Linked DNA regions of Homo sapiens: all the other regions are linked to region 3. The links are contacts of gene promoters, found by promoter capture Hi-C in blood cells and fetal thymus (Javierre and others, 2016). All regions are on one chromosome and are shown on one strand. The core of a region is centred on a gene start or on the middle of the fragment in contact, and the rest is flanking DNA. Distances in the headings are between cores, read along the strand shown. Region 1 overlaps SYNPO2 (synaptopodin 2). Region 2 overlaps USP53 (ubiquitin specific peptidase 53). Region 3 holds the start of MYOZ2 (myozenin 2). Region 4 overlaps SYNPO2 (synaptopodin 2).

Region 1 (6,289 bases), core at 573-3,072, 140 kb before region 3:
ATATAATTTTAGTGGATTGAAATTTATTTGGAAACCTTTTCCTATAGACAAACGTATCTCATTTTACGAGGCCTCCTTGATTTAGTTTGGTTTAAAAGTCAATGGAGAAATATATTCCATTTGATCAAATTGTCAAGTACAGCTTGTTAATGTGTCTGTGTGAGTTTCAACATATCACCACTCAAGTGTTGGATTTGTCCTTGTGTGTAAGCCACAGCAATGTCCCTCCTTCCTTCTCCACTTTCCTCTTCAAGCACAAGTCTCTTGGCCTACAAGTTTCTTAGACTACAGACTCCCATGATGGAGGTTTTCCCCCTATATGACCTACAGCTTAGTATGGTATTTCTAGATGTTTGTATAAGAACCTGTTTAACTGATTTCAGAGTCTTTTCTCTCTTCCCATGTTTTTCCCCCAAATTACTTTTTACTTTGTATTTGAAATATTTTTATGAATTTTCTAAATTTTAAAGGACTCTTGAATGTTTACTTATATTCTGACATGTTGAAAATATATTCCATTATCATGTTTAATCCCAGGACTTATGATGCTGGAAGCACGGAATGATTTAATGCTTTGCCTAGTCTTACCTAGCAAGCCAGAAGAGACATAGGCTTAAGCCGGACCAGCTGATCGTCAGTCCTATGCACTGCCCCTGAGCTGATTAATAGTTCCTTTTATTACTGTTGAACATTTGGTTCTTCTAGGGGGCCTCTGGGTCAGTCACTACCACCATATTAGGCCACACTCTGACAAGTAGTTTTGTTCCTACAAAGAATCTAATTTCTTTCTCCAACGTGTGGCCTCCTAAGACCACTGTGCTCCGCTGGTGATGCTTGAGTTACTCAGGGAAAGAGGCAGATAGCCAAAAATTCACCAATTTTAGCAGAAAACCCTGCCATCAGCGACAGCTGGAGCATCACAAAATCTATAAACACACTTGTTACTCATCTGCTGTGCCTGTAGGACAAGCCAGGCATGTGACCACTGAACATCTTGTAGAGGAGAGGTTTCCTAGGCGGGTCTCCTGACAGAAACTGAGATGAGAAAAATCAAATGAGCTTGGCGTTCAGAACATTGTGTGTTATTAGTTGAGCCCTGTTTTGAAAGAGGAGACCTACCACCTAAATGTAATTTAAAGAATTGAGAGATGGAGTGACAATTGGGTTAGATGCATCAATATGAGCACTGTTAATTCAATATATGAACTGGGGAATCGCTGAGTTTGAGTACTAATTGGTTACAGAGGAATTTTCTTTAAAAACTCTTAAAAGGCTTTGTACCTAGCATTTTATCATCTAGAAAAAGGCAAAGTTTTGGTAAAATGCAATCCTAGTGACAGAGTAAATTTACATCACATAACCACAAGCTTGGTAGAAAGTGGCATGTTATTCCCATAAACATCTTGGACATCTAAAGTTAAAAATCGTAGGTGTTATAGAAAAAGATCTTTGTTTCTAGTTTTTGGGTATTTAATTTTTAAAATTTTGGCATTTGTTTTCTTATCCAAATGCCTGCCCATGCAAGAATTAGATTATCTGAATAGGAGATAAGATGTACTTAGACCCTTTGATTAAATTTTCTTGGATTTTAGGCATATAACCATAGATCCTTGTCTAATGAATATTTTTTATTTACTATTTTTCAAATCACAAACTAATGAAAGGACATACAAACAAACGTGCTCTCATAATTCAGTTCATTCTTTTAGACTCCTTGAATGTAAGAGCAAGGTACATATATTTTACTTCCAGTGCAATTCTCTATGGTATCTAAGTGCCATGAACACTCACCAGTGCTGTCTCATGATCTAATACCCATGATTATTTGAGCTATTGACTTAGGATGATCCCAGCCTGTAGGTCTCATTTGCAAAGTTCTTTAAACATATGCCTTTGTGATGAATCAAAGTCATTTCTTGAAAAAAACAGAGCTCTGACCAGATACTATGTTAGATATTTGATGGGAAATATATATTCCAACTTGGATATATATTGAGCTCCAAGCCCAATATATGTGATGATAGCAACTATTATTTACTATTTATTGTATACCTATCACTGTGATGGGTATCTTATATACATTATGTCTGTTATTCCTCTCAAAAACCCCATAAGATAGGCATATTATTTCCAATTTTACAAATGAGAAAAACCAAAGTTTGTTAATTAAATAACTTGCTCCAAGTTACACAGTTAGTAAGTGAAGGAGGAGTTATTTGAACTCAGGTTGTCTGATTCCACAGGCTTTGCATTCAGAGTGGCAGTATAATGTGTTTTGTAAGCTTCAGAGTCAAATTATAAGCTTTGACTCTGAAGCTAGATTACCCAGGTTTAAATCTTAGCTCTGCCCCTTAATAACCAATAACTTATGAGACCTGGGACAAATGACTACAAGGAAGTTTAAAATTGAACATGTGGCTTACATTTGAGGTCCATGTTGTATTTCTATTGGATAGTGCTAGGTCTGGACTTTTCCAAATGCTGTCTTTCATTCTTTATCTGTCCATGTATCTATTTATCTTATCTATCTATCTATCTATCTATCTATCTATCTATCTATCTATCATCTATCTAATTTTGCTTTTTTCTGTCTTGCCTCTTTTTATTTCTTTGCCCACATTGATGCTAAAGATGTCTTACTAAACACAATCCGATCCAGGCTCTTTTGTACTGAAAAGCTTTTGCTAGCTCCTATCACCTACAATGGAAAGCCTGAACTCCATTATGCGGCATACACAAACTTTTCATCCTCTCTCTACCTGTCCAGCCTCATCTCTCTCATGACTCTCTTCCTTGCACTTCACATCTTGGAAACACTAAGCTGTGCTTTGGTTCCCAGGTCATTTCACGCTTTTGCCTTTGCACTTGTTGTTCCCATTGCTTTGAAATCTCCTCCCCTTTCTGGTTGCAGTGACTGAAGTTTTACTCATCTCCCAAAATCTAACTCAGACATTGCCTCCTCTAGAAAGGTTTCCCAAAATGATCAGCCACCCCCTTCGTCCACCACTTTTGCAATGCTTCTGTTCTTTATGAATACTTTTATTACCTTTGCCAGATGTATAACTTGTTTTTCTGTCTGCCACCCCTACTAGCCTGAGTATACGGAGAATATAATTGTATATCATTTCCATATTGATAAAAAAGTGATTGAATAAACAAAACAATACCTTCTCTCAAGGAGAGAGATACACTTTTGTACAATAAAAATAAATATAACGCAAGATGTAAGATATGTCATAAGGCCAGGTGCTCACGCCCGTAATCCCAGCACTTTGGGAGGCCAGTGGGGGTGGATCATGAGGTCAGGAGATTGAGACTATCCTGGCTAACATGGTGAAACCCCATTTCTATTCAAAATACAAAAAATAAGCCAGGCGTGGTGGCACACGCCTGTAGTCCCAGTTACTCGGGAGGCTGAGGTAGGAGAATCGCTCGAACCTGGGAGGCAGAGGTTGCGGTGAGCTGAGATCGCGCCACTGCACTCCAGCCTGGGTGACAGAGTGAGACTCTGTCTCAAAAAAAAAAAAAAAAGTGTCATAAGACAGAGCAATCAATAAATGTCCATTTGCAAGCAGAAAAGAAGTCAATTAATTTTGACAAAAATTTAAAAGAAAAAAGGCCGGGCGCGGTGGCTCACGCCTGTAATCCCAGCACTTTGGGAGGCCGAGGCGGGCGGATCACGAGGTCAGGAGATCGAGACCATCCCGGCTAAAACGGTGAAACCCCGTCTGTACTAAAAATACAAAAAATTAGCAGGGCGTAGTGGCGGGCGCCTGTAGTCCCAGCTACTTGGGAGGCTGAGGCAGGAGAATGGCGTGAACCCGGGAGGCGGAGCTTGCAGTGAGCCGAGATCCCGCCACTGCACTCCAGCCTGGGCGACAGAGCGAGACTCCGTCTCAAAAAAAAAAAAAAAAAATTAAAAGAAAATGTAATGAGGTAGGGAAACATTGATTGACTGGCTGATATAAGATCTCTCAAGATGGCCTTACCTTTGTCAGTGTAGCATAGTCCCCAGCTGACTCTCAAATATGCAGATTCTAAACCAGTTTTGTCATTGTTCAAACAATATCTAGGGATACTATACTCATGCTACCTGAAGACACGGGACACTGAGGCTAAACTAGAATTCTAGTTTCTTGCTTCAGAGGGAGGGAAAAAACATATTGATAAGACTGAATACCTGCATCTTCTGGTCAGTGTGATAGTTTCCCTTAGGAACCAAATTTATTAGTAAAGCTAGATTTGTGAGTGTGAAATCAGAACAAAGTCTGTGAGTTGAAAGATTCAATAGTGGATGCCTGCTCTGCTCACCTCTGCAGTTGAATGCACCTGTTACTTGCACCAGGCAGAGCAAATCTTTAGTCTGGCTGCCTTCTTCTCTGGGCAGTACTTTTATGGGCACTGTTTGTCTATGACTCTTTTCTAATTTCTATTTCTAGACAACCCATTCAGAAAGACACATTCTTTCCTTAGACATGTTAATACCTCCCATTAGTCAGCTCTGTTCTGTGCTCAGTCCACTTATGAGGCAACTTTAAACATTTCTGTTCTCATAGGCAACCTGTTGATTTAGAGTTAACCCTCCAAGGCAAGCCCTGTTATCTTATTTCCAAGATCTTAGATGTCCCTGACTCCTGACAGTAAAATAGCTTTGGGGGAATTGAGGAGAAAGGAGAGGGGCGCTTCCTGGAGAAGACAGTGTTAGGATTCTGACGGGGGTGGTAAGGATGGGAGACTAGGACTTGGTTAACTGCACTGCTTGATAACCGCATTTTTCAAAAAGTATGTGTCAGTTATTTGAGGAAAATTACAAGGCCTTGAATTATGTAAATATATTTTTAATATGCACACTTCACTGGCTTGGTCATATTCTAAATTTTGCAGCCTTTTTGCTGTTTGAAAGTATGAATTTAAGAGAGCGCTCAAGGATGAAGCATTATTTGTATTGCTAGGACTGCTAAGCAGTGAAACACACTTTAAGGGCAAAGTTTCCTTTCTGGTGAACAAACAAAAGAGAATTATATTATCGTGTAATATCATGTAATATCGTGTGTATTTTAGGTATTTTCTATGTGTCTGATGATGAGAAAATTAATCATGAAAACTTTAAAAAATTGTAATTCTTGCTTCTTAGGAGCCAGAGAATTTCAGTAAACCAGAGTTAAAACAGGCAAGTTTACATGTCTATTAGTTGCTATCCTGTTTTAAATGAGTATTAATATCTTAGTGCCTGGTTCAAAAGTTACATCTCACAGAGAAAGTCACCTTAGAGTGTGACTCAAGATCACTGAGGTCTGTGCTAGTTTCAGCTGTGTCAGTTGCTGTGCAACCTTTAACAGGGATCTTAACTTCTCTGGATCTCAGTTGTTCTGTCTGTGAAAAATAGAGGGTAGGTGTTTTAATGTTTTCAATCTTTCACAACTCTGCAACTTTGTGAGTCTGTGAAGTATTATTCCAATAAATGGATCAAAGTTTGAGATTAACTCTTCTTCCTCTCCATCCCTCCTCCCCACTCCCTCCCTCCCTCTCTCTCTTACTCTGTTTTTGTTTTTGTTTTTGTTTTGTTTTTTCTTTCTAACTTGTACTAGAATGTGCAGAGCACAGGAGGTCCTTTAAACGTCAGCAGAGCTGGACACTTGTTGACCGTGTGATCTTGGGCAAGCCATGTAACATCTCAAAGATTTAGTTTTGTCTTCTGGAAAATGGATTTAACAGCCTTTACCTCTCAGGGTTATTGTGAGGATTAGAGATAATGTATGTAAAGTGAAATGTTTAGCTGTTATTATTACTCATTTACCATGATGGATAAGTTTTTTTGTTTTTCGAGACAGGGTCTCACTCTGTCACCCCAGGCTGGAGTGCAGTGGCACCACCATGGCTCACCGCAGTCTCCACCTCCCAGGATCAGGTGATCCTCTCACCTCAGCCTCCCAAATAGCTCAGACTACAGGCACGTGCCACTGTGCCCAGCTAATTTTTTTTTAATTTTTTGTAGAGACGGGGTTTCATCATGTTGTCCAGGCTGGTCTCAAGCTCCTGGGTTCAAACGATCCTCCTGCTTCAGCCTCCCAAAGCGCTGGAATTATAGGCGTGAACCATGGCACCCAGCCTGGATAATAAGATTAAAATAAGGTTTCTGCTTTTGTAAAGATAGTAGAGATAATATATTATCTAATAATTACAATATAAAGTACCAGAAGAGAGATACAGGTGCATACCACCGCACCCAGCTAGCTTGTATGTATGTATGTATGTATGCATGTATTTATTTATGTAGAGATGGGGTCTT
Region 2 (6,423 bases), core at 3,809-6,308, 130 kb after region 3:
CAAAAAATAAAAATTCGCCGTGTTTTAATGAATTGCCCAGAGATTGTTACAATTGGTTTAGTCTGGGACTCCGAGCATTCTGACTTGACCGAAGCTGTTGTTCGGAATCTAGCAACACATCTTTATCTTCCTGGGGTATCTTATCTATTTTCATTCCCTTCCCTTTTATTTTCAAATTCTTCTAAAACATCATCCTGATGTTTTATCTGATAACGACAAGTTTAATCAAATCAGGCTAACTGGAATGCCTTTACTACATAGACTAGGAATGGCTTTCAATTACAAACTAAACTGTCTCATGGCTTTTGCTTCTTTCACTCTAAAATCATGATGATTGATGATTTTTTATGTATGGCCATGATTGTAAATATAAATATTGTTAACTTAGAAAGGTTTAATATTTAAAATTCATCTAAAGCACTGATCTCTCTCTTTTTTTTTTTTTTTTTTTTTTTTTTTGCGGCAGAGTCTTGCTCTGTCACTCAGGCTGCAGTGCAGTGGTGCAATCTTGGCTCACTACAACCTCTGCCTCCCAGGCTCAAGCAATTTTCATGCTTCAGCCTCCCTAGTAGCTGGGATTACAGGCATGCACCACCATACCCAGCTAATTTTTTGTATTTTTAGTAGAGATGGGTTTCACCATGTTAGCCAGGCTGCTCTCGAACTCCTGGCCTCAAGTAGATCCACCTGCCTTGGCTTCCCAAAGTGCTGGGATTACAGGCGTGAGCCACCACACCCCGCCATGATCTCTTGTTATGCTTGTTACTTTCTTGGTATATTTTGATTTGGTTCATGTTACAATTAAAGTTTTGGATAATTATCTTTTAGATAATATGTTTAATGAACATTCAAATATGTGATTCAGTCAAGAATTACCAGAAATGTGGAATTTATCTCATATTTTGAATTTCTTTATGAAAAGTGTCAGTCATGTGTCATTAGAGATACTCTATTATTGCTAAACTAATTTGTAGTGAATTCGTTTTATTGGACTTAAAGTTTTATGAATGAATTAAAAGTGGTAATTCTGTTAACAATGTGATGTCAGTGGTGCCTTCAAGTAATAATATAATATTAGATTGGGGCAGTATGCATGAGAAATATTTCATTATGTGTCAAAGACATGATTCATCTAATTATTCCTCATTTTACAAAAGATGTAGTGTTAAGTGTACATTACCAATTTTTTTAAACAGCTTTTTTATAGAGTTACTGATGAAAATGCCAAAAATAGTGAACTTAACCTTGTTGGTATGATCTGCTACACCAGCCAACATTATTGTGCCTTTGCATTTCACACCAAAAGTTCCAAATGGGTATTTTTTGATGATGCAAATGTGAAAGAGGTAAGTGACACTTTCTTTAATTGAAATAATTACTGTGATTTTTACTTTTTGTTAATAAATGATATATTGATATTAATATTCAAAAGGATGATATAATTAATATGTAAAATAGTAATAAATGAACATGATGATAGCATCAGTAAGTTCAAACTTTCTTTTGTTATTCTTGAAATTGGCTTATTTTGAAGCCAGCTTTTAAACCAGTCCATTTCCAGAATAATAATAAGTAAACTAATGAATATTAGTATACAAATATGTAACTATCAGTGATCTGTGTGTCAGTGATGATCCTTTTTGCCTGACGCATACTTGCTATATTTACTTTTTTGTGGATGATTCACAGTAGTTTTGTATAACTAGTGATGAAAATATGCTTGCCTTTATTTTTATTATGACAATTTTTTTCAAATTTTGTGTGTAGAATACAGAAATAGATATATCAGTTATATCTTTTGGTAATTACAGTTGACCCTTGAACAACATAGGAGTGCCAAGCCCTCTGTGCAGTTGAAAACCCACATACCACTTTCGACTCCCTCAAAACTTAACTGCCAACAGCCTACTATTGACAGGCAGCCTTACCAAAAACATAAACAGTCAATTAACACATATTCTGTATGTTCTATATATTATATACTGTACTCTTACAGTAAAGTAAGCAAGAAAAAAAGTTACTTAGAAAATTATAAGCAAAAGAAAATATATTTACCACTCACTAAGTGGAAATGGATCATCATAAAGGTCTTCATCCTTGCTGTCTTCACGCTGAGTAGACTGAAGAGGAGGAAAAGGAAGATTGCTTTTGCTGTCTTGGGTGACAGAGGCAGAAGAAAATTCACATATAAGTGAACCTGTGCAGTTCAAACCTGTGTTGTTCAAGGGCCAACTGTAATTTGTTTACTCAAATAGTAATAATATTGTCTAGAAAAGTAGTGAATAGTAGTTCTTAATAAGGAGTATTGGAATCACGAGGAGCTTTTAAAAAAACATATATTCCTGGATTCCTAAAGTTTTGATTCAGTGGTGTAAAGCCAGGTATCTGAAATTTTAAGTTCTACAGGAAATTCAGACATAACACAGTTGAAAATTATTGGTCTTGTCAAGGCTTACTGGCTTTGGCAATCTTTATTAAGTAGTAAACTCATTTAAAAATACAAGTTCTTTGGTTGTTATAAGCAAATGATGTAGAATTCTATTTAGTTCCATTTTATTAATATATAACAAAAGGCCATTTATCAGCACTGTGATTAAGACAATACAAATTCAAATGTTTGGTATTTAGTGGACTTCTGATTCTACCCATGAAGGATTAACTGCTATAGAAATAGCCATTTCACTGTTTAAAACTAGGACATAGGTGAAACAACTCAAGACATTGAACAACATGCAGTTGAACAGAGAAAAGGGAAACAAATGAGTTCAGCTCTATAATTACCCCCTGCTTACTGCCTAGAGGTAGTTTCTGGGTTGCAGTGCAGGCAGTGGGAGCCCAAACAAAGCCTAGTAGTGTCACTGAGTTCTGGAGACTGAAACTGGAGTTCAGGGAGGCCTAGATGGCTAAAATTTGCAGGACAGAATACTAGAAAGAAAACTGTACAGGGAAAAAGTTCTGGAAATTGACAGAAGGGTTCCTTGGAATTTTTGGCTAAATTGTGATTTGTGCATGTGAGGGGTGAACCCACACAAGTTTGGGGTTAGTTGGGAAAGATGGGAAGCATCACTGGAAAACAAAAGGTAAAACAATTCTCAAAAATCATACAAGGTTAGTAATAGTTTGTATCCCCACCATAAAGAGTGGAGAGATGATATAACATGTAGGCATTAGCTGGAACCTTCAGAAAAGTATTACCTTGATAATGGGGCTAAGTTATTCCTAGGCTGAAGGTTGCTCTGGACCTGATATTAAAAAGCTTAAAACAAGGCCGGGCTGGTCACGGGGGCTCATGCCTATAATCCCAGCACTTTGGGAGGCCAAAGTGGGCAGATCACGAGGTCAAGAGATCAAGAGCATCCTGCCCAACATGGTGAAACCCCGTCTCTTCTAAAAATACAAAATTTAGCATAGTGGCACCCACCTGTAGTCCCAGCTACTCAGGAGGCTGAGGCAGGAGAATTGCTTGAACCTAGGAGGCAGAGGTTGCAGTGAGCCGAGATCGCGCCACTGCACTTCAGCCTGGTGACAGAGTGAGACTCCGTCTCAAAACAAACAAACAAAAAAAGCTTAAAGTCTTGAAAGTTCAAAGCTAATCCCACTTTTAAAATAACAGAACAAAATTCAATACCCAAGACTACAAAGTTCAATGAAATTCAATATGCCACTTCAAAATAGCATTCAATAAAAAATTACCAAATATTCAAAGAACCTGAAGAAAAATTAATAAAAACAGACCAGAAATGACTGAGATGGGACTATCAGGGGAGGATAGTAAAACTACTATTTATATATAGGGATTTCTTAGATAACATTTAATAAGCATGAACCATAAAAATAGCTGGTAAATTAGACTTCATTGAAAGTTAAAATTTTTGTTCTTCAGTAAGATACTATTAGGAGAATAAAATGACAAACCGTATACTGAGAGAAAATATTTGTGAAGCATTTATCTAATAAAGACTGTATCCAGAATATTGAAAGAACTCTTAAAATCCAATTAAAAAATCAGCAAAAAATGTTGACAGTTCACCAATGAATATACATGAATGGCCCTTGAAATGATATTCAGTACATCATTAGCCACAATGGAAATACAAATTTAATTCATAATGAGATTCTAGTACTCATCTGTTGTAATGGCCAAAATTAAAAAGACCAGTAGTTGGTGAGGATAGGAACAGCTGGATCTCTCACACAAGGTTGATGGAACCACAAAATTGAACATTCACTTTCAAAACTGTCAGTTTCTTATAAATTTAAACATATATTTTCCATATAACCCAGCAAATCCACTCCTGTGAAAATGTAAGTCCATGTAAAACGTGTACTTGAATGTTCATGGTAGTTTTCATAATGCCCAAACTAGAAATGACTCAAATGTCAGCAATTGGTGAATGGATGAACAAATTGTGGTATAGCTATACAGTGGAATATAATACTCAGCAAGAAGGACTGAACTATTGAACTGACACATGCAATAATGTGAAAAAATCTCAGAAGCATTATGCTAAGAAGTGAGATATAAATGACTACATGCTATGATTCCATTTATATGAAATTCTAGAAGGAAAAACAAAGGTGTGGAGGGTAGATCACTCATTTCCAGGGACTGCAAAATGGGGTACAAGGTAAGATTTTGGGGTGAGGATTACACAATTGTATTGTCAAAACTCAATGACTTGTACACTGTAACTAGATAATTTTACTTCATATAGTACAACTCAATAAAGCTATTAAAATTTTTTGGTATTTATATTTAAAATCAGCACTTTGCTTGAATTACTTAGTACTTTGATGTAGGAGTTTATTAAGTTTCATCTTGAGTTGATGTGTAACAACATTTGCAGCTTCTACTTTGCTTTTACATAGTTTAAATTGTTCAAAATTTGGAGGAAGAACTGGCTGTATTAATCACCCTGTGAAGTTTTTTATTTTATATTCACATTGACTCCTCAAAGCCTGGCCAACATGGTGAAACTCTGTCTCTACTAAAAATACCAAAATTAGCCAGGTGTGGTGGCACATGCCTGTAATCCCAGCTACTCAGGAGATGGAGTCATGAGAATCCCCTGAACCTGGGAGGTGGAGGTTGCAGTGAGCCGAGACCGTGCCACTGAACTCCAGCCTGGGCGACTGTGAGACCTTTTCTCAAAACAACAACAACAACAACAACAACAACAAAACAAATGGACTCCTCAAGTCTCTTGGAATCCCCAGTGAGGAGGGTAAACAGCTGAATATGTGTAGTTCAAAAAAGCTCATCAGAATTGTTCTTAAAAGTCCCCTTGCCTGCAAAAATATTCTAGAATGCTTTGTGGTGTTTTTGTTTGGTTGGTTTTGTTTTGCTTTTAAATCAATTTTATAGAGGTATAGTGCACAAACATTAAAATACACCCATTTTAAGTGTACAGTTGGAGTTTTGATAAATGTATTTACCTATGTAACTACCATAATCAGTACACAGAACATGTTCATCTGCTAGAAAAATTCTGTCAGGCTTCTTTGTTGTCATACTCCCCACACCACCCCAGGATGAGGAAATCACTGGTCTCATTATAGATTAGTTTCACTCATTCTACAATTTTATATAAATGGTCTCTTACAGTATGTACTACTGTGTATCTGCCTCCCTTCCTTTAGCATAATGTCTTTAAGATTCATTCATGTTGTTTGGATTCACACTTTATTTTTATTGTGTGTTTTATGGCTGTACAACAATTTATCCGTTTACCTGTTGAAGTATGAGTAATCTGTGAACATATTTTTTTCCGTTGCTGTTAGATAATACCTTGAAGTGGGATTTCTGGGTTGTGTGGTAAGTGTCTGTTTAACTTTACAAGAAACTGTCAAATTGATTTCCAAAGTGGTTATACCAATTTGCATTTTATGAGAGCAATGTATGAGAGTTCCTGTTGTTCCACATTCTCAGCAGCACTTCGTGTTGGTATTCTTTTTAATGTTAGCCCTTCTCGTGTATGTATAATATTATCTCACTGTGGTTTTCATTTGCATTTCCCTTGTCATTGGTAATATTTTGAGCATCTTTTCATGTGCTTGTTTGACCATTCTTACATCTTTCTTTTGGTGAAATGTCCAATTTTTTGCCAGTATTTCGCATTGGATTATCTTCTTATTAATGTGTTGTAGGAATTCTTTATTCTGCATACCAGTCCTTTATTAGCTGTATGTTGCTTATTTTTTTTCAATTTCTTAATGGTGTCTTTCCAAGAGCAAAAGTTATTAATTAATTTAGATTAAGTCCATTTTAAAAATATTTTTCTTCTATGGTTTGGTATGCTAAGAAATCTGCCCTTCCCCAAGGTTGCAAAGATTTTCTCTTTTGTTTTCTTCTGTAAGTTTTAGTTTTTGTGTGAGCCATTCTGAGTTCATTTTTTTGTTGTTGTTTTATATGAAGTCAGGTTA
Region 3 (6,071 bases), core at 1,956-4,455:
TCGATTAACTGTGACTTGATTTAAAATTAAAAGGCATTGGCTTTCAGTATGGACCACCTGAAAATGCTTTGTAAATAACCATTAAAGTTCTGTTTAAAGTTCACCATTTGTGCTGTGAAGCACATGGATAGCATATCCCATCTTAAGACTGCAACATCAGTGACTTGTTCTTTCTTCTTTTTCAGAACAGATAATAACTCAGAGACCAGAATGAACTTATAAAATAAGGCAAGAGAATTTTAAGTACAATCTATTTGAAAAATAGACAAAAAGGTGTAAGACCTTATATTCACTAAAACTTTTACAATCTTTTAAAATACAGTATCTATTTTCATTTTGGAAACCAAAATTAATATAACAATGATTATCTGTTGAGGACACCATTTCAACCTTTAGAACTGTATGTAACATAAAGTTGGAAACATATGAAGATGATCAAATAGGAAAACCAGAACTCTCTTAATCTTTGGTTTTTTTAACTGAATAATGCAGTTGATTACTCTAAAATTCTAAATCCTACCATATTGCAGAAATAATAATAGCAAAAGGAAAAAAATCATTTATTAAATTTTTACTAAGTATAAGGAATTTCTAAATTGTCCCATGTAAAATGTCCATGACTTTATGTGATAGATACTGTAATCACCATTTTACAGATGAGAAAACAGAGTTTAAAAGACTTGTCTAATAGCATACTATGGTAAAGGCTACAGCCAGGAACATACGGGCACTCAAGGGATTTTGAGAGGGAATTTAAATTTATTTGCTTTGGCAAAATTGTTTCTCATTTGATACCTAATTATACTTTCAATGCAAATGGTTTGTTTAGAAACAATTGCAATAGGTTAGCTAGATTAGCTTAAACCTGCTATCTACAACCTTTAGCTTTCTCTTTTTTTTTTTTTTTAAACAAGGTCTGGTCTTGCCCGGGCTGGAGTGCGGTGGCTTGATCATGGATTACTGCAAACTCTACCTCCTGGACTCAAGCAATCTTCCCACCCCAGCCTTTGGAGTAGCTGAGATTATAGGTGCATGCCACTCACCTGGCTAATTTTTGGGTTTTTTGTTTTTGTTTTTGCTTTTTTGGTAGAGGCAGAGTTTTGCTAGCTGGCCTAGGCTGGTCTCAAACTCCTGGGCTCAAGCGATCCACCCACCTTGGCCTCCCAAAGTGCTGTGATTTACAACCTTAAACTTTCAATCCTATGATCAGGCACCAAAATGTATAACCGATTTCAATCTTATAAAATACAATTCCTCCCACAAATAGCCACCACCTTTGTACATTCAAGCGACTGTTCATTTGAATTCCAAACTCATGCCAAACCTTTAATGCATTCTGCAGTTAATCTCCAACCTACTCATTTATTCATTCATTCAATGAATATTGAGTGCTTACCATATGCCAGATACAATTCCAACTGCTGAAGATACAAAGCCCAAGCCATTATAGGATTCATAGTTTAGTAGAAAAAAGAGATATCACATAAATAGATGCAACCTCTACCTCCTGGACTCAAGCAATCTTCCCACCCCAGCCTTCAGAGTAGCTGGGATTACAGGTGCTAGTAAAACTGTTGAGGACGCCATTTCAACCTTTAGAATTGTACATAACATAAACTTTTGCTAGATAGATAGATAGATAGATAGATAGATAGATAGATAGATAGATAGATAGATAGAATAATGTTGGCATGTTCTTAGTGAAAAAACTGAGTTGTCACTCAGCAACAATTATTTCTTTGTTAGTAAGTTATGTATGAATTTTAATTGGGCTCATGACCACCTAGAATAGAAGCTACACTTCCCAACCTTTCTTGAGTTATGTACGGCTATATGGCTAAGTTCTGCCCAATGGGATGTAAACAGAAGTATGAACAAAATATCAGACATGTTCTGAAAAGAAGACAGTGTTCCCTTCTCATTTTTTTTTCTTTTTCCTGCTGGTTGAAATATATGCATGCTGACTGGAGCTGGGGCAGCCAATTAGGCCCAAGGGGTCTGCATTTTAGGGATAGTGGAGCAAAAAGTTAGAGGGTAACTGAGCCCTTGATAATTATGTCAGTCATGCAAACCCTCAATTACTTACTTCTAGACTAAGCTTACCTGTGAGAGAAACATCTTCCATCTTTTTACAGTTCTGTTTTGGGGGGGTTTCTGTCACTCCCATTTGACTTTTATCTTAACTAATAGAAAAATATAAAGAAAATGAAGCAGAGTAAGGGACTAGAGAGTGGCACAGTGTGATATTTTAGACAAGGTGATAAGGGAAGGATTTTATGAGGGATTGTTATCTGAGCAGAGTCCTGAATGCATGACTGTGCCATGTGAGTAGAGGGAAAGTATGGAAGGGGGAAATAGTAAAAGGAATACAGTATCTATTTTCATTTTGGAAACCAAAATTAACATAATGATTATCTGTTGAGGACACCATTTCAACCAGGGAAAGGGGGAAATAGTAAAAGGAAAGGGGGAAACAGTAAAAGGAAAAGCCCAGAGATGAGAGCACGTTTTTGTGTCCAGGGACCATCAAGGAGGCCAAACCTTTTGACAGGCAAACCTTTCAAATCTTGTCAGGCCTGCAAATGAAAATCCTTGACCCTAGACATTGTAAAGACTGGTCAACTTTGCAGGGACTGGTCTCTGTAGGCCCTTCAAAAAGCATGACCCAGTTATGAGTCTCAGCTTTTACCCAGCTTCATGGCTTATCCTCTAATGGTTCATTTCAAAATGCTTCCTGAGTTCACTATTCAAATACTACATACTTTTCTCAACCTAGCATGAGTTCTCACTACAGCTTAAGAACTGGCTCTATTGATCCACCCCACATTACTTCCTTTCTTCTTGAGTCTACATAGATATTACTGCCTATATTGTTCATTTTAATTATGAAAAATCTATCATTCTGTTCTGATTCATGCATGTGTCTCTTGCCACCTCAATTAACATGTAACATAAGAGCTAGATGTTTAAAAGTGTTTAAAATCCCTTTTGGCTACTATCTGTTCAACAGAAAGTGCTCACTAAAAACTTTCTGCATGTCCAATGAACGTTTCATTTAACCATCTCACAAACTAGAAACACAATGGAGAGAGCCTAATCTTTCCCTGTTCCTCCCTTTCGCCAGGAAGATATGAGTAGCTAAAGTATTTGGTGCTATATATAGCCAGTTGATGTCAGCTGAATGCCAGTCTCTTCAGAAAAGCTCAGTCCCCAGTTTGAGTCAGAGTAGGGACCATGCTGTCCCAGGTTCAAGGATAAAAACCATCAGGCCCAAGTGCCATCCATAGTCCATCTCCAGAGTCTTCCTCCACAAACTGGGATTCATCCCCGCTGAAAAAGCACAATCTAACAGCAAGGTGAGTATGTTGTTTCCTAAAATGTTTCATTAGTCAGTTGTCCAAGGATATTCAGAGTTGTGACTCATAAATGGGCATTCTCTGCTTTAAAGGGCAGCTGTTGCCAATATTAAAATGCTACCACCAAAGAATTCTGGTTTAGTCTAGTGTCTTCTTCATTCTTACAGTTTGCTGGAATTGATGGAGTGTGATGCTGGTACAAATGAAGGCCAGTGAGGAGACAATGACAGACTAAAATACTGTGGAGAAAAGAGAGGGAGGGGAAAGGAGACCAGCAATTTCATTGTTTCTCACTGCCTGATGATCATTGTATTAATGTCCAGACTGGGTCTCTGTTCACTGTGACATTGCCTGTCAATGAATAACATACTCTGTCACCAGATAAGGAATGCGTATTGAAGTCTTTCAGTAGCAAGCGATAATAACTTTTTAATAAAGAACAAAGATGTTGTCTTTCAAAACAGTGATTATAAGACACTCCAAATGAGTTCTTCACATTGCCTCAATAATGTCCCTTTGTTTTTAACAGGGAACAAAAAAACCATGCTATCACATAATACTATGATGAAGCAGAGAAAACAGCAAGCAACAGCCATCATGAAGGAAGTCCATGGAAATGGTATCAATAAAAATCCTTCGTAGCATTAATATAGCACAGCATGAATGTGGCTCCATCCTGACGTTGTTTAATATTCCATAGTTTACTTCCTTTAGATTCTTGCTGTTCTGTCATAACAAACCTGGAGCTCTAGGGGGTGTAGAAAAGCCTATGGTAACTAATCCTTTTGTAGTCATCCTTTCTCATTTGGAAGCTATTTTCAGAGGAACAACTGCTGTAAAAGGCATGAAGCAATCTGACAGCTGATGTACATTCTGCTTGGCTTGCCTTCCACATTATAAGTTAAGATCACTCTCGATTCTTTTTTTTTTCTGGACAAGTCTCATACAATCTTGTCTTTATTGTCCATCCCACATGGTTTAGCTTGATTTCTTTTACCTTACATTATATAAATCACTCAAAATAAGTTCTATCATCTTTTTTATCAAGCTATTAAGTTGGAATTCATATTTATTGCTTATTATTTAACTCCATTTCTATTGCTTATTTATTTAACCCTTCATATTTGTTAATTGATTTACTAACATATTTTGTGTGCAAAGTCTACTTTTATTTGTAACTTCTGAGAAAATATAAAGTTATTGTAGTCTCAAAGCATATGACTCAAAAAAATTTTAATATATATTACGTGCAAGGTAATATTTCACTCTCTCCTTTTCTTTAAATTCTAGCAACTAACTTGAGAAAGCAATGCTTTATAACTTGCATTTTGATTCTTATAAAGGAAATTCAACTTTGTTTATAAGCAACGTATAGCATCAGTTTTAAATGTTAAGAAAAATATTCAGGTCCTCTTAGGAGCTGATTTGAGCCATTCCAGATATATTAGTGGCATTTTCAGAATGCCTCCTTATTTCCCCTGTATTGACAAGGAATGCAGCCTTTCACCACTACAATATTGAGACCTAGAAGCTTGAGACCCGGGAAGAGTATTGAGCATAATGTTTTCATATTACACCTTCCATAAAGCAAGAGGAACAGAATCAAAGACTTTTAGATGCTCCCCACGCAATGTAATCATAACTAAGAGGTCCGTTGTTGTTTTCTATTTTCTGCAATACAGAACCACTGTACTGGATTCAACTTGGTTCTCATGTTTTACTGTAATGTCAAATTAGCTTGGAATAAAATGAGAATAATTCTGAGTCAGATACCAGAACTGAATTCATACCAATCCAAAGTTCCAAAATTCATGCCTTATTTAAAATTTCATGCATCTTTGTGTTTCCAGATTCAAGTAGTTTACTTGAAATTATTTTTTAGCTTTTCTGATCAATGTGGCAAAAATCAGATGATCACTGGAGTTTGTGACAAAATTGTTTACCTTAAAATAGACCTTTCATGTTATTATTTTCTAATGACATCCTAATCATAAAACAGTCAGTCCATTTAATGTATTCTAGCCTAAATCATGTGTTGGAATCTACTGTTAGCTCTGACATAGATCTATAAGGGTAAGAAGTTTTTTTTCCTTTTTTTTATAAACATAACTATTGTTTTTATAAAAAATATGTGGGAGAAAACACACAATTATATATCAAAGTGGGGGAAACCCTCAAAACCACTATCTCACCACCAGTAAATCCTAGCCACGTAAAGTCAGCTGAAGCCCTCCCTCCCATGTCACTGGATGAGTACCAGCTCCCTTAAGAGGAGTCACATGCTCTGTCTTTGTTGGAATGTCAAGTATTTCAGATAACATGGGGATAATCAGACTCTTTCCAAGCTCATCCCAGATGAAATAACTTCAGTACTTTATGAAACCGCTCAAATATTTTTCTTCTCTTATTTCCTCTGACATTTTATATGGAACTTTACTATTTGTGTATAGCATGATGTTTAGAGATCTGGAGCTAGGGGAGTATAATTTTTTCTCAGGATGCATAATAAAATGGACTTCAGAGAAACTTTTTTGGGAATGATCCTCCAAACTTTCAAACATTTTACAGGAGTAAAAATCTGGATAATTTAAGATAAAACATGCAACTGCTTTGATCTTAATTGTAAGACTAAATAAATCAAATTTTGCCTGGATTGTCCTTTATAAAGATAAATTGAAAAGGATGTTCCAGTCGAAATCCCCTTCTCCTGCCTTC
Region 4 (6,658 bases), core at 1,526-4,025, 160 kb before region 3:
AGTGTTACAGCTCATAAAAGCAGCGTGGACCCAAAGAGTGAGCAGTAGCAAGATTTATTGCAAAGTGCAAAAGAACAAAGCTTCCACACTGTGGAAGGGGACCCTAGCGGGTTGCCAATGCTGGCTAGGGCAGCCTGCTTTTATTCTCTTATCTGGCCCCACCCACAACCTGCTGATTGGTAGAGCCGAGTGGCCTGTTTTGTCAGGGCGCTGATTGGTGCATTTACAATCCCTGAGCTAGATACAAAGGTTCTCCACGTCCCCATCAGATTAGTTAGATACAGAGTTTCCACACACAGGTTCTCCAAGGCCCCACCAGAGCAGCTAGATACAGAGTGTCGATTGGTGCATTCACAAACCTTGAGCTAAACACAGGGTGCTGACTGGTGTGTTTACAAACCTTGAGCTAGATACAGAATGCCGATTGGTGTATTTACAATACTTGAGCTAGACATAAAGGTTCTCCACGTCCTCACCAGAGCAGCTAGATACAGAGTGTCGATTGGTGCACTCACAAACCTTGAGCTAAACACAGGGTGCTGATTGGTGTATTTACAATCCCTGAGCTAGATAATAAAGACTCTCCACGTCCCCACCAGACTCAGGAACCCAGCTGGCTTCACCTAGAGGATCCCGCACCGGGGCTGCAGCTGGAGCTGCCTGCCAGTCCGGCGCCGTGCGCTCGCATTCCTCAGCCCTTGGGTGGTCGATGGGACTGGGCGCCGTGGAGCAGGGGGTGGTGCTCGTCAGGGAGGCTCGGGCCGCACAGGAGCCCATGGAGGGGGTGGGAGGCTCAGGCATGGCGGGCTGCAGGTCCCAAGGCCTGCCCCGTGGGAAGGCAGCTAAGGCCCGGGGAGAAATCGAGCGCAGCGCCGGTGGGCCAGCACTGCTGGGGGACTCAGTACACCCTCTGCAGCCACTGGCCTGGGTGCTAAGTCCCCCATTGCCCGAGGCCGCAGGGCTGGCCAGCTGCTCCGAGTGCGGGGCCTGCCAACCCCACGCCCACCCGGAACTCCAGCTGGCCCGCAAGCGCGGCACGCAGCCCCGGTTCCCGCTCACGCCTCTCCCTCCACACCTCCCTGCAAGCTGAGGGAGTGGGCTCCGGCCTTGGACAGCCCAGAAAGGGGCTCCCACAGTGCAGGGGACTGAAGGGCTCCTCAAATGCCACCAAAGTGGGAGCCCAGGCAGGGGAGGTGCCGAGAGCAAGCGAGGGCTCTGAGGACTGCCAGCATGCTGTCACCTCTCAACTTGAGGAGACACTAGCCTTGTGGGTGGGATCCAGCCATTCTCCTGATGGCAGGGAAGAGCTTCAGAGGCTAGAAATCAGACATGTCTGGATCATAATCCTACCTTGTCTGTGGAGCATCAACTCTGCCCTATAGAAATTTCTGCATTATGTAGGCCTTCTTTGAACGTATATCATGGTGAGTAGTGCTTGACCTTGTACAGTGTTAGCAATCCCACTTTTGACATCTCTAAAGCAACCCTGTAGGTTTATGGCATTGCCACTTATAATTTTGCAAAGACATAACTTCCACTCAGGAGTTCTGCAAGCCTGGTTCCAGGTAGTAGGTTACTAGCCAAGTGAGTGAACCCAGCAAATAGGACCTCATATATAGTCCAACATAGTTTTGTTGTTATCAAGTTGCCGTTGCATGAATATTTTATGAGGGAATTATATGCTACTGTAGAATTTGTGGATTGGGAATTTTCTAAGATCTTTGGGTGAATTCCTTGAAAACGTCAATGGCTTATGATGTCATAACTTATTGATTTTCTAGTTGCAACTTGCTTCTTGGCCAGATTTGCCCATCTAAATTTCAAGCTTCTCTAGGAATGAGCCAAGTCACATCTTTCCCTTTGTTCCCCACAATTTAGCCCAAAGTTGCCCTCAAAGCAAGCATTTAACCTGCAGTTGCTGATTGATTGAATTACTGTATCTTGTTGTCATTTTATTTACTTTTTAGAATTCTAGATAATCATTTTCTCTAATTGTTCAGTTGCATCAAAAATAAAATATGACCGTTTCCCTAGCATAGTAAAAAGTGCAGTAAAACACAAAAGAGTTGGGTCTAGCATTAATTTTTTGACAAGAAAAACATGACAAACCATTTGCAGGGAAACTTCGGCTATACCTTATCCTCGTCACCAGTTGGCTTATGAATAATCAGGGTAATTTATATTACCTTGTTCTGTTTACTATATATATGTGTATTCCAATGGATTTTCCACTTGTCCCAATGATTTCCTGAAACGGAAAAACATTCAACTTCATTTACAAGGTAATGATTATCAGTGCCCAATCAAATCTCCCTGCTTCCAGATTTTTTAAAAAATGTTATTTATTTTGAGAAATGATGCCAGGACTTTAAGACTAATCATAGGTACAAATATACCTGTGTATTTCATGTGAAATACTCCTGCCATGACACACACACACACACACACACACACACACACACACACACTTAGCCCATTTGTTGAAAAGTGCCTGTAACCTTTTTATGTATAGGACTCCCTTGTCCAACTTATTGTTTTATCCTATGTAGTGCCCTTGAATTGAATTCTGCTTTTCAATAACACTGGCCCGCACACATAGCGCATTCTTACATCATTTCTGATGCCATTGCTCTAGTTGAAATCTTTATTGTTTAACACCTGTACTGATGCGATATACTCCAGAGGTGATTTTGGATCGGCCTCTTTCGCTTTCCAATCGTTCTGTGCATTTTGCTTTCTGGCTTGCAGCTCCATGGCACCTCTCATCTCCTTAGCACAAAACAAAAACACCCCTAGAATATGGCTCTGACCTTCCTGTCCAGACTTGCCTTCTACTATTTTCCCTTACCCTCCACAGTCTCTCCTGCTTAGCTATCTCTTGAATAGTGGCTATGCTTTCCTACTGCCGTAGCGTTGTTTTGCCAGTACTGCTTAGCATCTTCTCCCTTCCTGTGGAAAGAAAGAATTTTGTCACCTACAAAAGTCTTTGTATGCTGTAAGGCCGGGTCTCAAGGTAATTTACTTTGTAAACCCCTTTCCTGAGCCAATGACCTAAAATCTCACCCTCAGCTCTAAGTCAGAATCATATACTACCATCTTGTTTATCAAGTACTTACTATTGGCTGCCTTATTTTCTAGTTGTTTACACATGCAACTTTTTACTAGATTGCATGCACTTTGTGGGCAAGGCCTATCCCTGGCCTAACTTTGTATTTCCGTACTGTTTATGACAATGTCTTGCCAATGATATGTGCTCAGTAAATATTTGTTCACTGGTTGGATATCCTTTCATTATCTATACTATATTTTCAGCACAATGACAGGGTAGCAACAGAGGCATCTATTGCAGGAGGCCATACAAATTGTACCTCAGAAATTCATATAACCAGGAATTATAGTCTGAGCAATTACTTTAATAAGTTAGAATCTCTCTGTAATTATAGGTTACAGATGGTGACATAAAAACACTAGGAGGTCAGGAAGTTTCTTCCGCACTCAGCATACTTGAACTAAAAAGAGTGGACATTTCATAATTCTGAGCACCTTGGTCTATTGCTTGGTCTGTGCCTCGTGTTATTCTCAAGAAAGGAGACTGGATCTCAACCATCACTCATCCACACTTGTGTTATCTTTAAGCACTGTAGAGGAAAAAACTCTTTTGGAGTTTGAAGAATAAAGTTGGATACATTGCATAGTATATGCGGTTTTTAAGCTAACTTAAAGGGAAAGCTTCCTGAATGAAAATAAATCATATTAGTTTAATGATGGCTGCTATTAATAATGACATATATACCCATATATAGTATAGTGTAGTAAAAACTTTTCATCTGTTTTCTGGAAATCTTGATTTTCAACTCTTTCTAATGTATTTTTCTTTTGGGGGCCCACTCAGACCTTACAATATGTCTTCTAGAGGCACAGAGTGAAAAGCCTTGTTAGTCTGCTGATGTGCCTTCAGACCTTCTCCGGACTATTCCTTGACCAGAACCATCCCTTTTCTAGCTGGCTTTTCTGGTAGAGTCTATCCACACTCCTAGAACTGTCTACTGTTTGCTTGGCAAGGTCTACCTAGATCCTTCCTTGGCCTGCATCCTCCTGGGAGCTGTGGGGTCACCATGAGCCTTGTTACTTCTTTCTTTTCCCCCCTTCCCCAGCACACACCCACACATGCCATCATTCCACCGACTGGACTAATTTTATCAGAAACTAGACTTGTAAATTAACAGAGACATATATGATTTCACTTACAATTTGAAAAAAAAAGAACTTGATTAATAAGTGTCAGCATCACCATTCAGAGTATCTATAACTATCACAGCATAAAGTAGCTGGAAAAGAAGCACATATATAGAATCCAGTGGTTTTCAGATTCCAATTTATAAAATGGATAAAAGTGAACCTGGTTTAGTTAAAGAAGGGAGGGAAAGAGGACGCTGCCTCTTAGGCCTCATCCTGGTGGTGGCATGTGTGGCATGCCATCTGCACATAAGCCTATGAACCCCTAATCTGAGTTACATGAAACACTTTGCCTATGTGGAAACTGAGTCTGGAATGGTTAAGCGACTTGCTCACAGTCACATACCCAGTTTGTGGCAGAGCTGATTCTCAATCTCAAGTTACTAAGCACAGTTTCCTTTTTCTGGGCTTTTCCCACAGCACCAAATAACTGCTAGATAAAGCACTCTTTCCTGCTCATTGCGCTGGTCCAGTTTATCTCTGTGCCCAAGAGCAGTTTAGAAGAACTAGCATTTTCCATGCAAAAATCTTTGTTGAAGGAGATTCATGATTAACTGAAATCACCCAAAGTACCACAAACAATGCAACAAACCATGAAGGACAGCACAGCGTGTGTTTTTATCTGACCCATTTGTTCCAGGATGGGCTCTCTAGTTGAACAGCCTAACAGCCCTGCAACCAACCTGTCTCATAAGCCCTGCACAGAACAACCCAGCAGAATTCCTAAGCCTGCTCACATAAACAACCAGAGAAGTTAATCATAGGCATGAGAGACTTTTGGTGGTGGCCAATTAGAGCAGACCCCCCACAGAGCTTCATCATAGGGTAGCCACGTCAATGTCAATACCCTCCTCCGTGCAACAATCCTTGTGATTAATGTAATTACCATAATTACTGACCTCTCTTCTGAGAGTCTTGGCCACATGGAAGAGTTGAATGTTTTCCCTGAATGCGTTGTCTCCATACAATGTATGCCCTTAATTATAGAACATGATGTCATAAGTTCTGATTAGGGGGTTGCCCTAGAGGAGCTGAGGATTGGCCCCAAAGGCATAAGGGGGCCAGTTCAACTCATAGCCCACCCTAGTCCTCCCGGTCACATGCAGGTAGCCAGTTACTTGGTAATTAACAAAACAAGCTTGTGGTTGTTGCTGTCGTCCATTTTACTCCTATGTCTTTTGGGGCCTTCTTGGGAAATAAAGGCTTCCTTTTTCCTCATGTACCTCATAATTATTGTGCCCCAGAACTGCACATAATTATTATTATTTTTCCATTCAGGAGTTAATGCTTCAGCCAAACAGGTCTGGACGGAAACCCAGTTTGCGTTCAGAGGAAAATAGTTGACTATTCTCAGACTAGACCACTTGAGGGCGGCATTGCCTTAGGAGAGTGTGTTTTGACCAACTAATACATAACCTAAGGAGGAAATATGCAGCGTGGGTGTCACAGGCACATCACTGTAGTTCAGGGAATAAAACCACAAAAAATGAGAACATACTTCCAGGGAGTCAACTCACATTTAGGAATGAAGGAATAAATGTCTAATTTTAAATGTGGTTGCAAAGTTTTTTTTTTACATAACAGAATTGCTTGAGGCAGGCGCGCTGTAAACCATTTATATGGGGAGGGATTTATTCTGTGAAATGAAGTGCTATTGAAAAAAAAGATAATGTCCAGTGCAGTGTAGGAACAAAAAAGGCAAACTAAAATATATTGCACAATGAAGACTGGGGACAAAATCATGAGTATGTTTGCAGGTCTTCATAACCCTCTCGGATGCACATAGTTCTTCACCATGGACATGTCCCCATTATAACCTCTTTTAATTTGGCAGGGAGCTGCTCCTTTGCCTTTCCTTCATATTTTGGGGGTCAATCCAGATGAATGAGAGAAAATAAAAGAGGGGGAAGAGAAGAGAAGGAGGATGGTATGCCCCTCTGTACTTGGAGAATCACTAGCGGTGGTCTCAGTCACAGGGAGACAGACTGGTTCCGCTCATCTCTGATCCTGCCCCAGTAAATTACTTGCAGATATCTTTTTGGTAGTTTTCACAGGATGCTAATAAACTGATCAGCCTAGTATGCTAGAGATATTTAAGTTCTCTTTCCAAATATCACTGCATACATACCTAAATAACAGACCAATCATTGATTTCCAGAAACCTGTCTGGAAGGCATTCTACATTCTTTCCTTTGCTTCTTTTTATGGGCCACAGAAAGAACACGATAGTTCTTGAATACATTTCCCAGATTGTCCAAAGAGGTCAAACTCTTAATGTTAAGCACAGTTCTTTTGAGACTGTGGTTGTGGGGGAGAAATTAAAGAAAGATCTGGAAGCTAATGGAAGCTACTCAGATGAGTAGCTTCTTTAGTGCAACCTCAGCTGGAACGTCAGTGACTCTTGAAAATTCTTTCTTCCCTC

What was found. The method cuts DNA at HindIII sites, captures the fragments that hold promoters and counts their contacts. A CHiCAGO score of 5 or more calls a contact.
Region 1: a contact is called between a fragment that was not itself captured here and the fragment with the promoter of MYOZ2 in region 3, in 1 of 17 cell types (monocytes). The highest score is 5.3, in monocytes.
Region 2: a fragment that was not itself captured here is called in contact with the fragment with the promoter of MYOZ2 in region 3 in 3 of 17 cell types (M1 macrophages, non-activated CD4 T cells and M2 macrophages); the score reaches 6.0 in M1 macrophages.
Region 4: a contact is called between a fragment that was not itself captured here and the fragment with the promoter of MYOZ2 in region 3, in 1 of 17 cell types (monocytes). The highest score is 6.3, in monocytes.

What each region holds. Positions count from the first base shown.
Region 1 is chr4:118,993,342-118,999,630 of GRCh38, forward strand. The region is part of intron 1 of SYNPO2 (synaptopodin 2); the gene reads left to right. Among named protein-coding and RNA genes, the nearest start is that of SYNPO2-AS1, 12 kb to the left of the region's middle. The HindIII fragment of the contact is 915 bases long and covers 1,366-2,280 here.
Region 2 is chr4:119,260,519-119,266,941 of GRCh38, forward strand. USP53 (ubiquitin specific peptidase 53) reads left to right here. Exons shown (of 19, transcript NM_001371395.1): 11 at 1-135; 12 at 1,197-1,346. Among named protein-coding and RNA genes, the nearest start is that of ARLN, 37 kb to the right of the region's middle. The HindIII fragment of the contact is 2,988 bases long and covers 3,565-6,423 here.
Region 3 is chr4:119,132,627-119,138,697 of GRCh38, forward strand. It overlaps MYOZ2 (myozenin 2), which reads left to right and starts at 3,206. Exons shown (of 6, transcript NM_016599.5): 1 at 3,206-3,356; 2 at 3,886-3,975. The coding sequence starts at 3,900. It overlaps LOC102723967 (a long non-coding RNA gene), which reads left to right. Exons shown (of 3, transcript XR_001741422.1): 3 at 186-928. The HindIII fragment of the contact is 2,789 bases long and covers 2,097-4,885 here.
Region 4 is chr4:118,976,365-118,983,022 of GRCh38, forward strand. The region is part of intron 1 of SYNPO2 (synaptopodin 2); the gene reads left to right. SYNPO2-AS1 (SYNPO2 antisense RNA 1) reads right to left here. Exons shown (of 3, transcript XR_939120.3): 2 at 2,187-2,248. Among named protein-coding and RNA genes, the nearest start is that of SYNPO2-AS1, 5.0 kb to the right of the region's middle. The HindIII fragment of the contact is 1,904 bases long and covers 1,824-3,727 here.